Linked DNA regions of Homo sapiens: regions 1 and 2 are each linked to region 3. The links are contacts of gene promoters, found by promoter capture Hi-C in blood cells and fetal thymus (Javierre and others, 2016). All regions are on one chromosome and are shown on one strand. Each heading gives the region's core, a stretch centred on a gene start or on the middle of the fragment in contact. The rest is flanking DNA. Distances are from core to core; before and after follow the strand shown.

Region 1 (3,576 bases), core at 982-3,481, 510 kb before region 3:
TCTTTGTCTTTTTTCTGATCTTAATGCAAAAGCTTTCAGTCTTTCACCATTGAGTATGCTGTTAGCTATGGGTTTTCATAAATGCTTCTTATCGTACTGAGGAAATTCCTTTCCATTTCTAGTTTAATTATTTTAAATATTATAGCTGCTTCAAGGTCAGCCCTATTATAATAAGACCATTCATCTGCATTCTGAAGCAATTTAAACCTATTATCTTTATAATTTAAATCTTAGTTTATAGTATGGGTAGCCTAGATCATGTTATTATTATTCCTATAACCTAGAAATATGTAAACTCATGGAAATAGGTCCATGACAGTGTTCATATAACAACCTTCATATTTTTGGAAAAGGACAGAAGCCTACTTTAATAATACCTTCTTGATTATTCGGAACAATTATTTTTCTGTTTAATATGACATAAAGTGTTTTGTAGGATAAATGCTTTCATTACTGTGCAGATCCAGTTTTCTGTCAGAACTACCTACAAGTGATAAAAAATAAATACATGTAATTTATAAATAATTGTTCATTTAGCATCCTGATAATTTGGGAAGGGAGAGAAACTGCCCTATGCATCTCAAAGCAAGACACATTTGCAATTGTAGAACTGGGCTTTCCCAAATTATTAGCTAAGTTAGTAGTGTTTTGCTTTCATTTGTCTCACCAAATTAGGCCATACAAATCTAGCCTTTTTTTTTTATTCTTGGTCATAGAAAAGTTAATAAAATTGAAATTTCTAAGTCTCCCCACAATAGTTGAGTTATAGAATATTCCAGATAGGCCAGAAAAAAGCATTTGGCTGTTATATAGAACTCTGGCTCACTGAATACAGCTTTCAGTATATCATTCTTAGAACTATCACAGATTTAAAGTGGACAATTAGTAAAGTAGGTAATTTTTCAGAAAATAATTTGGGGAAAATAGAAAGTTGAAATGATTAAGCTGTCTTGACCAATTTTTGCAAGTGCTAATCTGGAGACTAATTTGGCCTAATTTTCTTCTCAGTCCTCACCCTTACCAGCTGAGACCACATGGGTAAGGCTTTCAGCATCCTAGCTCTACAGTAAGGGGTCTGGCCCAGGTGACATAAAACCTATTCTAGATGCCAGGACAAAATTTGTACTAAGCATGTGGCCTTTGTTTATGTGGCCTATGTTTATAATTTAACACAAAAAAATTATTTGTGATGACTTAACAAAAGTAAAAATAGTTAAGTTAAAATTACCAATCCGACTTTAGTGGGTAACTCTGGCTATATATTTTACCTGTTACATCTTCTTTAAAGTATATCAGAATTAAAGCATGAAATGTTGAAAATAAAAAGCCATTGTCAGAAAACTCTATCAGTCAGAGTTCTCAGGGGATGTAATACTTTTATTTATTGAATTCAGAGGAAAACTGAGGAGACATTGAAAAATCTTTCAAAATAGTTAAGTATTTTCTGACTTTGAAGTCCCAGGAAGTATCATCACTATGAACAATGATTATGGTAAAACTAGCCAGGCTGTAGGTGATTTTATGTACTGTTATTGTAAACAGATGTACTGAATTGATTCTCCCACCTCCCCTGTTTTCTGCCTTTTTCTAAGCATGTGGAAAAATGTTTCCAGTTAGATGAGGGTTTTAGGCATTGAAAGTTTAAAAGTGACATGTCTAAATCACAAAACACAATAGGCAGTTTCCCATGGTAATCTAGATAGTGTTTTTAAGATGACAGCTTGCCGCTGTGGCTCATTAGATTTAAACACAAATGGCCTTTGCCGCTTAACCTTAATGTCCTTCACTGTCAAATGAGGAAATTAGAGTAAATTTTTATTACTTTTCAAGGTTCCTGTCAGCTCTGAAATCCTATGTTTTTAAGAAGAATAGTTAAAAGCCAACGAACCACTCTTTCCGTTACCATTTGTTTGGAGATGCCTTCTTCAAAGGAAATAGTTTCTGAAAATAGATTCCCAGATCATTCAATATTTTTAGATCGTATTCCAAAGAAAGTATCAGAGAGAATCTAAAACCTGTATTATCATGTTCAATAATAACGTGTGCTGATGTATTTGGGAATATAGAAGAATATTTCCTTGAGCCTAATCTCTTACTACAGAATATAAGGAGTAAAGACATCACACATTTAGAAGTATTTTATGTTCTTCTTATAAGCCATCCAGATGCCAGGATTACTAGCTCTCTGAATTGCATACTTAAGGAAAATGTCTCAATCATACTTGAAGGCACCATAAAATGTCTTTAATTAGAGTGCTAATAATGGTATTTTCTGCTGATATAGTACATTAAATCCAAGTGGCCCAAAGGACTCTACAAATTAATGTAGCCTAATAATATTCAGCAACTAGATTTCACACTGCACATGAAGGACTTTGGGAGGAGTGATATACTGTTGTCACTGAAGCCATAGAAATAAAACAGACACAAAATGCCAGATGGCAATAGTAATATAGAAAATGCTTTTCTTTTGTCCTGAAAAATCCCAAAGGGTTTGGTAAATGTAAGTGAATATGGTAAACACAGCCCGCCTCTAGACTAGAACACAGAAGTGTGCCTTTGATCACACATGTTAGCATTACAGAACAGTTTGAGCAAGGGTTATGTTTACTTGAAACTGCAGCGAAGGATTCCTCAATGATAGAGATAAAGATCATGTTGGAATACTGATAATGCAGGACAGATGAGCCCCAAAATCGAGGCATAGCCCAAGAGGATTCTTGGCTTTGCCCAGGAGAGAATTCAAGGATGAGCCGGTGGTGTTAGACAGCAGCCTTTTATCGAACAGTACCATTCCTTATGGAGCAGGGCTAACTCAAAGGTAGTGCACCCAGTATGGGCTGTTGGCAACTGTATTTATAACCACTTATATTCCCTTTCAATTACATGCAAATTAAGGAGTGGGTTAATGCAAATGGAGGGGTGGGTTATTTAGCACTTTCTAGAAAAGGGGTGATCCCTTCTGGGTTATTGCTATGGAAAGGGTGGTAACTTCCAGGTTGTTGCCATGACATTTGTGAACTGTCATGGCACTGGCGGGAGTGTTCTAGGCTAATAAGCATTGAGGGTAGCTAGGGATCACTTTCCTTGCCATCTGCTGGTTCCTGCTGGTTTCTAGTGGCTTCTTCACTTCATCTGGTAGGGACCGGGAAATACGCCCTGCCAGTCTCCTGCCTCACTAAGAAATCATAGTTGACAAAAACAAGTACACAAATTAAACACGAAACAGCAGAAACATATTTCAATGAAATGTATGCACAATTTGAATGTTTTACATGTACTAAGTGCTCACTATGTACCAGGCACTGTGCAACTGCTTTGCAGATTATTTAATTTAATCCTTACAATACGTCTGTGAGGTGAGCCACATTATTATCCCCACTGTACAGATGCTCAGCAAGATAAGAAATCTTGCCCAAGGCTAAACAGATGATTGGCCACAAATATTGATAAGAAATGTATATATGTGTGTTTATATATCTATGTATGTATATGTATTGACTGGAGTGTAATCGTTTCTGCTATTGATATTAGAGATCTGTCTTGAAGTAATTTAATTTAAAAATGGATAAAGAA
Region 2 (3,651 bases), core at 166-2,665, 470 kb before region 3:
CACCTGGCAGATAGGGCCTGACGCCGATATGTGGACTCTCCACCTGCTTGATTCCGCCTCTGTATGCCATTAATGCCAGGCTTTCCCCGTTAAAGGCACCCACTTTCTGCTCCAAAAGTGAAGCAGGACCTTTCAGGCAGGAAGCCTGTGCTGCTTCTCCTAAGCTAACTACGGAATAAAAAGTCACTTTCTTTATACCAGACCTTGCTCTTGCTAATTGGAGTTTGTAAGCAGCGAGCAACTGAACTTGTGTTTCGGTTAATTTTAAGGTCCACATCCTTCATGCAAGTATAGACCTCAGATCTTAAACATATAGAACCCCAGGAGTGACCAGTTCACTGAGCATGGATGACGATGGACCCAAGCCAGTCACAATATGGTAAACAACGAATGATATCTGAGATACACAGGCCTGAACTTGCTTGTCAGGTCCATCTATTAGCAGATGGGACATCCAGGCAGGTTGTGGCCACTGCCAGATGGGGGCCCATGCCAGGCTGCCTGGGCTAAGGTCTGCTTAGAGGAGCCCAAGTAGTTGATGTTGCCAGTTTTAACAAGCATGGAAAAAAAAAAAAAGCAAATAAGAATATAAGTCTCAAACCTGTGCAGGCTCAGAATACTAGTCAGTGCAAGCTTATTTTTCAGGAGTTCTGGGGGAATCTTTAGCTAAGGTCTCAAAACTAAAAAATATGTTGAACTAACCCCAAACATGCATTCCCATGTATATTTGCCCAAGAAAGTCCATGAAATGAAACTCAGCTTTTCTGACTTGTCCCTATTTAGGAGCTTTCAATATTTTCCCAATAGTCCGTAGATATCATGTGACCACACTCAATCTATTCCATTTCCCATTTCTTGTCAGGCCTCAATGAACTGTGACTCAAATTATATTGTGTACCTCATTCTCTGTCTCTTCCAAACTCACAACCAATTCTCCCAACCCAACTGCTCACTGGGTTACTAGACAGTTTCTCCATTAGTGATCTATCTGAACTTTCCAAATATGTAGCCGTTCCAATACTGTTTTAAAATACCATAAGGATTTTTTTCTCTTATAGTCCCTAAAAGATTATACTAAAAAGTATTCTTTCATGTATTCATTCTTTTTTATTATTATTATACTTTAAGTTCTAGGGTACATGTGCACAACGTGCAGGTTTGTTACATATGTATACATGTGCCATGTTGGTGTGCTGCACCCATTAACTCATCATTTACATTAGGTATATCTTCTAATGCTATCCCTCCCCCGCTCCCCACCACACAACAGGCCCCAGTGTGTGATGTTCCCCTTCCTGTGTCCATGTGTTCTCATTGTTCAATTCCCACCTATGAGTGAGAACATGCGGTGTTTGGTTTTTTGTCCTTGCCATAGTTTGCTGAGAATGATGGTTTCCAGCTTCATCTATGTCCTTACAAAGGACATGAACTCATCCTTTTTTATGACTGCATAGTATTCCATGGTGTATATGTGCCACATTTTCTTAATCCAGTCTATCATTGTTGGACATTTGGGTTGGTTCCAAGTCTTTGCTATTGTGAATAGTGCTGCAATATCCAGAATCTACAAAGAACTCAAACAAATTTACAAGAAAAAAAACCTCATCACAAAGTGGGCAAAGGATATGAACAGACACTTCTCAAAAGAAGACATTTATGCAGCCAAAAGACACATGAAAAAATGCTCATCATCACTGGCCATCAGAGAAATGCAAATCAAAACCACAAGGAGATACCATCTCACACCAGTTAGAATGGAGATTATTAAAAAGTCAGGAAACAATAGGTGCTGGAGAGGATGTGGAGAAATAGAAACACTTTTACACTGTTGGTGGGACTGTAAACTAGTTCAACCATTGTGGAAGTCAGTGTGGCGATTCCTCAGGGATCTAGAACTAGAAATACCATTTGACCCAGCCATCCCATTACTGGTTATATACCCAAAGGATTATAAGTCATGCTGCTATAAAGACACATGCACACATATGTTTGTTGCGGCACTATTCACAACGTATTCATTCTTTCAATAGACAGTGAACACTTACAACTTGCCTGGCACTGTGCTAGGCTCTGGGAAAGTAATCCACTGAGAAAATGATCCTTGTGTTCAAAAATGAATACAATTACTATGTTCCTGAGGGAAACATAGTAACTCCCCCAGGAGCTTACACAATACCAATTAAAGGACAAAGCTTCCAGTTGTCGTATTATATTCCTTCACCCTCATTAATACACAAAGAATCACTTGAATTCTCTCCCATATTATTCTACTGTTGCTCATAAACTTTAAAAACCAAATGCTGAGTGATAGATTATTATTGTATTTTGTCTATATTTAAAGAAAGGAGGCAAAGTCAGGGGAATCTCTGGAGATATCAAGTTCACTTTGGATGAAGAAATTTTACTTTGCCGTCACACAACTTGATTCATTTCAAAACCAGTAATCCAGTCTGAAATTCTGCAAATGCACCAAGTCAGAATCCTATCATTTGGGGTAACTTTCATGCTGGGAGTTTATATAAACTGCTCTTTCTACATAAAATCTTCATTCTAACTACTATGTAATTTCTAAAGCTATTATATTTTTTTAAGCCCACCCAAAATACAGCCTGAGGAAAGCTGATGACTAAAGGAAACAGACATGGACAATAGGTACAGGGAGACCAGCACATTCTGGAATATTTCGAGATCAGGCCACTGAGTAAAGCGGCCCAAGTCTTTTCTAAAATGAGGATGGCCTTTTATCTGCTGGTACTCAGAATCCGTTCCAAAAGGGAGCTTTGAACTCTTGCACTGGGCACAATTCCCAGGAGTCCCACATTTCTTCCTCTGGCCAAGGACCAACAAGCAACAGATTGAAGAAGAGGCTGGGCTTTGTTTGTTTGAAGCATTCCATGTTTTCTGGCTCTAGGTTTTGGGGCTGTCCGCCATGTCATGAGTTATCTTTTCAACCAACCCAAGAGCTTTCTTCCGAAAACAGTTTCAGCCCAGAGTTATGAACCATAGTTCAGGTTCCAATTCTGCCACTTCACCTTCCTTAATAGTTACTAAAAGTTTCAGAGAAAGTAACAGCTGGGTTTCCACATTAAATTAAGTGCCTGTGATAGGGTGTCCTGCTCTGTGGTTAAATATTTCCTTTAAAAACAGAGCACAACCTGAAGACCATGATCATCAAACACTGCACTTTGAAACTAATGAGGAGTTTTAGCCAAAAACAACTGCAGAACTACGGCCCTGCTCAAATGCTACAGGAACGACTTTCCCAAAAAAATGATACTTGAAAAAGCATATGCATATATATGAAATGTGAAAGCATATAAATATATATGAAATGTGAAATGGAATAACATTATTTGGGGGACATATTGCTATTAAAATATCAATATAGCAACAAGTTGCCTTTCATGGATCTTTTAAGAAGCAATTCCTTACTTCTCAGGGTTTGAGCAACTCTCAAAGTAAGGCATCCATGTCATTCTGTCACAGAATTGGATTGTGTCCCAAAGGAGGCCTGGCTCCTGCAAGATTCTCCCTAGTCAAAACTGGCTTCCCTATATGATCTCCCAATCCCACATCTGTTTGAATTAATAAAAAGGTCATCTCTTAAGATGCAAACAGCCTGTGAGAGGAATAAACACAGCAGACTTTTGA
Region 3 (3,655 bases), core at 287-2,786:
CCGCTAATTTTTGTATTTTTAGTAGAGACGGGGTTTCACCATGTTAGTCAGGCTGGCCTCAAACTCCTGACCTCAAGTGATCTGCCTACCTCGGCCTCCCAAAGTGCTAGGATTACAGGGGTGAGCCACCACACCCAGCCTTCCTTTCCTTTTTTTTTTATTTTTTTGAGACAGAGTCTCACTCTGTCGTCCAGGCTGGAGTGCAACGGGCGATCTCTGCTCACGATTTTTAAAAATTATTTCCACTAAGGAAACTGAGGCATGGATAGGTTACGTTGTCCAAGTTCACACAGCTAATAAAATGGGAGGATTCAGGAATTTGGGGGTTGTATTTCAGTAGGTGCAAGGAATTTCAAAAGGTAATGTCATCAGTTAAGGCAGGAACCGGCCACACTTCTTTAGTGATTCTTCAGTTACTTTAGGCCATCTGGATGTATACGTGCAGGTCACAGGGGATATAATGGCTTAGCTTGGGCTCAGAGGCCTGACACTTGGTAAATAGACACACACACAGACACACAGACACACAGACACACACACACACACACACACACGCTCCGGTAAAATTCACACAAGTGAGGCCGGGTGCGGTGGCTCACGCCTGTAATCCCAGCACTTTGGGAAGCCAAGGCGGGTGGATCACTTGAGGCCAGGAGTTCGGGACCAGCCTGGCAAACGTGGTGAAACCGTCTCTACTAAAAATAACAAAAATTAGCCGGGCGTGGTGGTGCATGACTGTAGTTCCAGCTACTCGGGAGGCTGAGGCAGGAGAATCTCTTGAATCAGGGAGGCGGAGGTTGCAGTGAGCCGAGATCACAACACTGCACTCCAGACTGTAAAAAAAAAAAAAAATAAGAAATGAAAAAGGAAAAAAAAATCACTCAAGTGGGACGGTCTTCTCACTGTTGGAAGACCTGTTGGACTCGCTAGTAAACGGGAAACAGGGCGAAATAGGCGTTTCTTCCCCAGAAGCTCTTAAGAATGAATGAATGTTTGGCCCAGCGCTGTGGCTCAGGCTTGTAATCACAGAACTTTGGAAGGCAGAGGTGGGAAGATTGCTTGAGCTCACGAAATTGCAGTGAGCTATGTTCACGTCACTGCCCTCCAGCCTAGGAGACAGACTGAGACCGCATCTCTAAAAAGAAAAGAATGAGTGGCGGGAAGATCCCGCTCCCTGCCTGCGTATTGAGAAACTGCCTTACAAAAGGCCAGGCAGGGCAGAGCCACGCCAAGTTCAGGTGCGTTCCCTGTGTCCCCACTAAATGCACTCGCAGGGTGCGCATCGCCAGGGCGCAAGGCGTCTGGGCGTCTCTCTATGAAGAGGCGCCCGCAGCTAGCGAGGCGGGTGCACTTTCCTCGGGAGCGGAAACTACAGCGCCGCCTGGAAAGCGTGCCGGGGCTCGCGGGTCCTGGATCCCCAGTGCCAGGGCCAGGCGTTCTGGCCCCCGAGTGGCGCGCGCTCCCAAGGGGCGGGGCGGGGCGGGGGCGTGACGGGCGGTGGCCGGGGGCGTCCGCTCCTCCCCCTCGCGGTCGGTAGAGCTGGCTGCGCCGAGCCCCCTGCGCGCTGCACATGGGGCGCCTGACGGAAGCGGCGGCAGCGGGCAGCGGCTCTCGGGCTGCAGGCTGGGCAGGGTCCCCTCCCACGCTCCTGCCGCTGTCTCCCACGTCCCCCAGGTGCGCGGCCACCATGGCGTCCAGCGACGAGGACGGCACCAACGGCGGCGCCTCGGAGGCCGGCGAGGACCGGGAGGCTCCCGGCGAGCGGAGGCGCCTGGGGGTCTTGGCCACCGCCTGGCTCACCTTCTACGACATCGCCATGACCGCGGGGTACGCGCGCCGCGGGGCACCCTCGGGCCCTCCCCGCGCCGCGGTCCGCGGAGGTTCCGGGTTCAGGGGGCGCGGGCCGGGGTGTAAGGGGCGCGGGGGGTGCGGGCAGCGGCCGTGGGGGAAGGGAGCTGTCGCCGCGGCCACCGCCGGGGTTGAATGGAGCGGGCGGGGGGGCCGGGCCCTGCGCGCCTGGCATTGCCTAATACGGTGCACGGCGGGGCGCTGGCCGGAGGTTAAGTATAGAACCGGGCAGGAATGCGGTGCCGGCCCGCGGGGGAGGTGGCTGCTGCCCCGGCGCCGCTGCCTTCGCTGCTGTTGAAGGAGCGCCCAGCCCTGGCCACTCGATGGTCTCGGGAGCGCAGAGCTTCATGCTGCGATCGCTGGGCAGAGTTTTCGCCCCTGTTAATTTCACCGCGACTTTTTTTTTTTTTTTTTTTTAAAGCACAGCACGTCCTAGAGCTTGTCACTTGGGACGATTTTGAAATAACCACCCCACTTATCCCAGCGTGGAGCTCCTGCCCAGCATCTTTATGGCCTCAGGCTCCGTGGCTGATAAGCTGGACCTTGATTTTTGGCTTTGAGTATGACTTTGCAAGTTAAGGTTACACAATGACTGTCGCTCTTCGCAGAGCTCTCAAAGTGACTTTTGTGTCAACTGCTTCTCAAAACCTGTTGGGAAAATGCTTTTCCATTTCTCAATTGCACTGCCTTTTAAAAAAGTTATTTTCCCATTATCACTCGAAGTATTAACTTATGTAAACGCGAGGAAAAGTTTACTATTTTCTTTTTTTCTTTTTATTATTTATTTATTTATTTTGAGACGGAGTCTCGCTCGGTCTTGGCTGGAGTGCAGTGGCGGGATCTCGGCTCACTACAAGCTCCGCCTCCCGGGTTCATGCCTTTCTTCTGCCTCAGCCTCCCGAGTAGCTGGGACTACAGGCGCCCGCCACCACGCCTGGCTAATTTTTTTGTATTTTTAGTAGAGACGGGGTTTCACCATGTTAGCCAGGATGGTCTCCATCTCCTGACCTCATGATCCGCCCGCCTCGGCCTCCCAAAGTGCTGGGATTACAAGCGTGAGCCATCCCGCCCTGACAGTATTTTATTTTATTTTTTAGACGGAGACTCATTCTGTCGCCCAGGCTGGAGTGCATTGGCGCGATCTCCGCTCACTGCCAACCTCAGCCTCCGGAGTTCAAGCGATTCTCCTGCCTCGGCCTCCGGAGTAGCTGGGACTACAAGCGTGGGCCACCACGCCCCATTAATTTTTGTATTTTTGGTAGAGACAGGGTATCACCATGTTGGCCAGGGTGGTCTCGAACTCCTGACCTCAAATGATTCCCCCACTTCGGCCTCCCAATGTGCTGGGATTACAGGTGTGAGCCATCGCACCGGGCCTAATATTTTATTTTAATTTTTTAAAAATAGAGATGGCCTCTCACTGTGTTGGCTAGGCTGGTCTCAAACTCCCGGCCTCAAGCAATCCTCCCACCTCAACCTCCAAAAGTGCTGGGATTACCACTTCCGGCTTAATATTTTAAACTTTCTCCAGGGTTTATAGAAAAATGTGATTGACAAAAATTTAATAAATCTTTACCTATGGTGATTGAGTTTCTATTATGTGCTTAGCATATGATATTGAATGCCAAATACAGTTCATACAAATGTTATTTACTGAGGACTTACTATGCAGGGGACTGTGTTGGTTATTTTAGGTGTATTTTTAGTCCTTTAAAGTCCTGTGAGGGGCACATGATATTACATTATATAGATTAGAAGAGTGAGGCACAGATACTTGCCCAAGATCACAGCCAGCAAGTGTCAGTCA

Evidence for each region. The method cuts DNA at HindIII sites, captures the fragments that hold promoters and counts their contacts. A CHiCAGO score of 5 or more calls a contact.
Region 1: a fragment that was not itself captured here is called in contact with the fragment with the promoter of HACD1 in region 3 in 1 of 17 cell types (M2 macrophages); the score reaches 6.4 in M2 macrophages.
Region 2: a contact is called between a fragment that was not itself captured here and the fragment with the promoter of HACD1 in region 3, in 2 of 17 cell types (naive B cells and fetal thymus). The highest score is 7.7, in naive B cells.

Annotation. Positions count from the first base shown.
Region 1 is chr10:18,122,766-18,126,341 of GRCh38, reverse strand. No RefSeq gene overlaps it. Among named protein-coding and RNA genes, the nearest start is that of CACNB2, 16 kb to the left of the region's middle. The HindIII fragment of the contact is 4,393 bases long and covers 35-3,576 here.
Region 2 is chr10:18,086,778-18,090,428 of GRCh38, reverse strand. No RefSeq gene overlaps it. Among named protein-coding and RNA genes, the nearest start is that of CACNB2, 52 kb to the left of the region's middle. The HindIII fragment of the contact is 1,559 bases long and covers 636-2,194 here.
Region 3 is chr10:17,615,255-17,618,909 of GRCh38, reverse strand. It overlaps HACD1 (3-hydroxyacyl-CoA dehydratase 1), which reads left to right and starts at 1,536. Exons shown (of 7, transcript NM_014241.4): 1 at 1,536-1,827. The coding sequence starts at 1,571. RefSeq lists a silencer at 1,336-1,995. The HindIII fragment of the contact is 16,531 bases long and covers 1-3,655 here.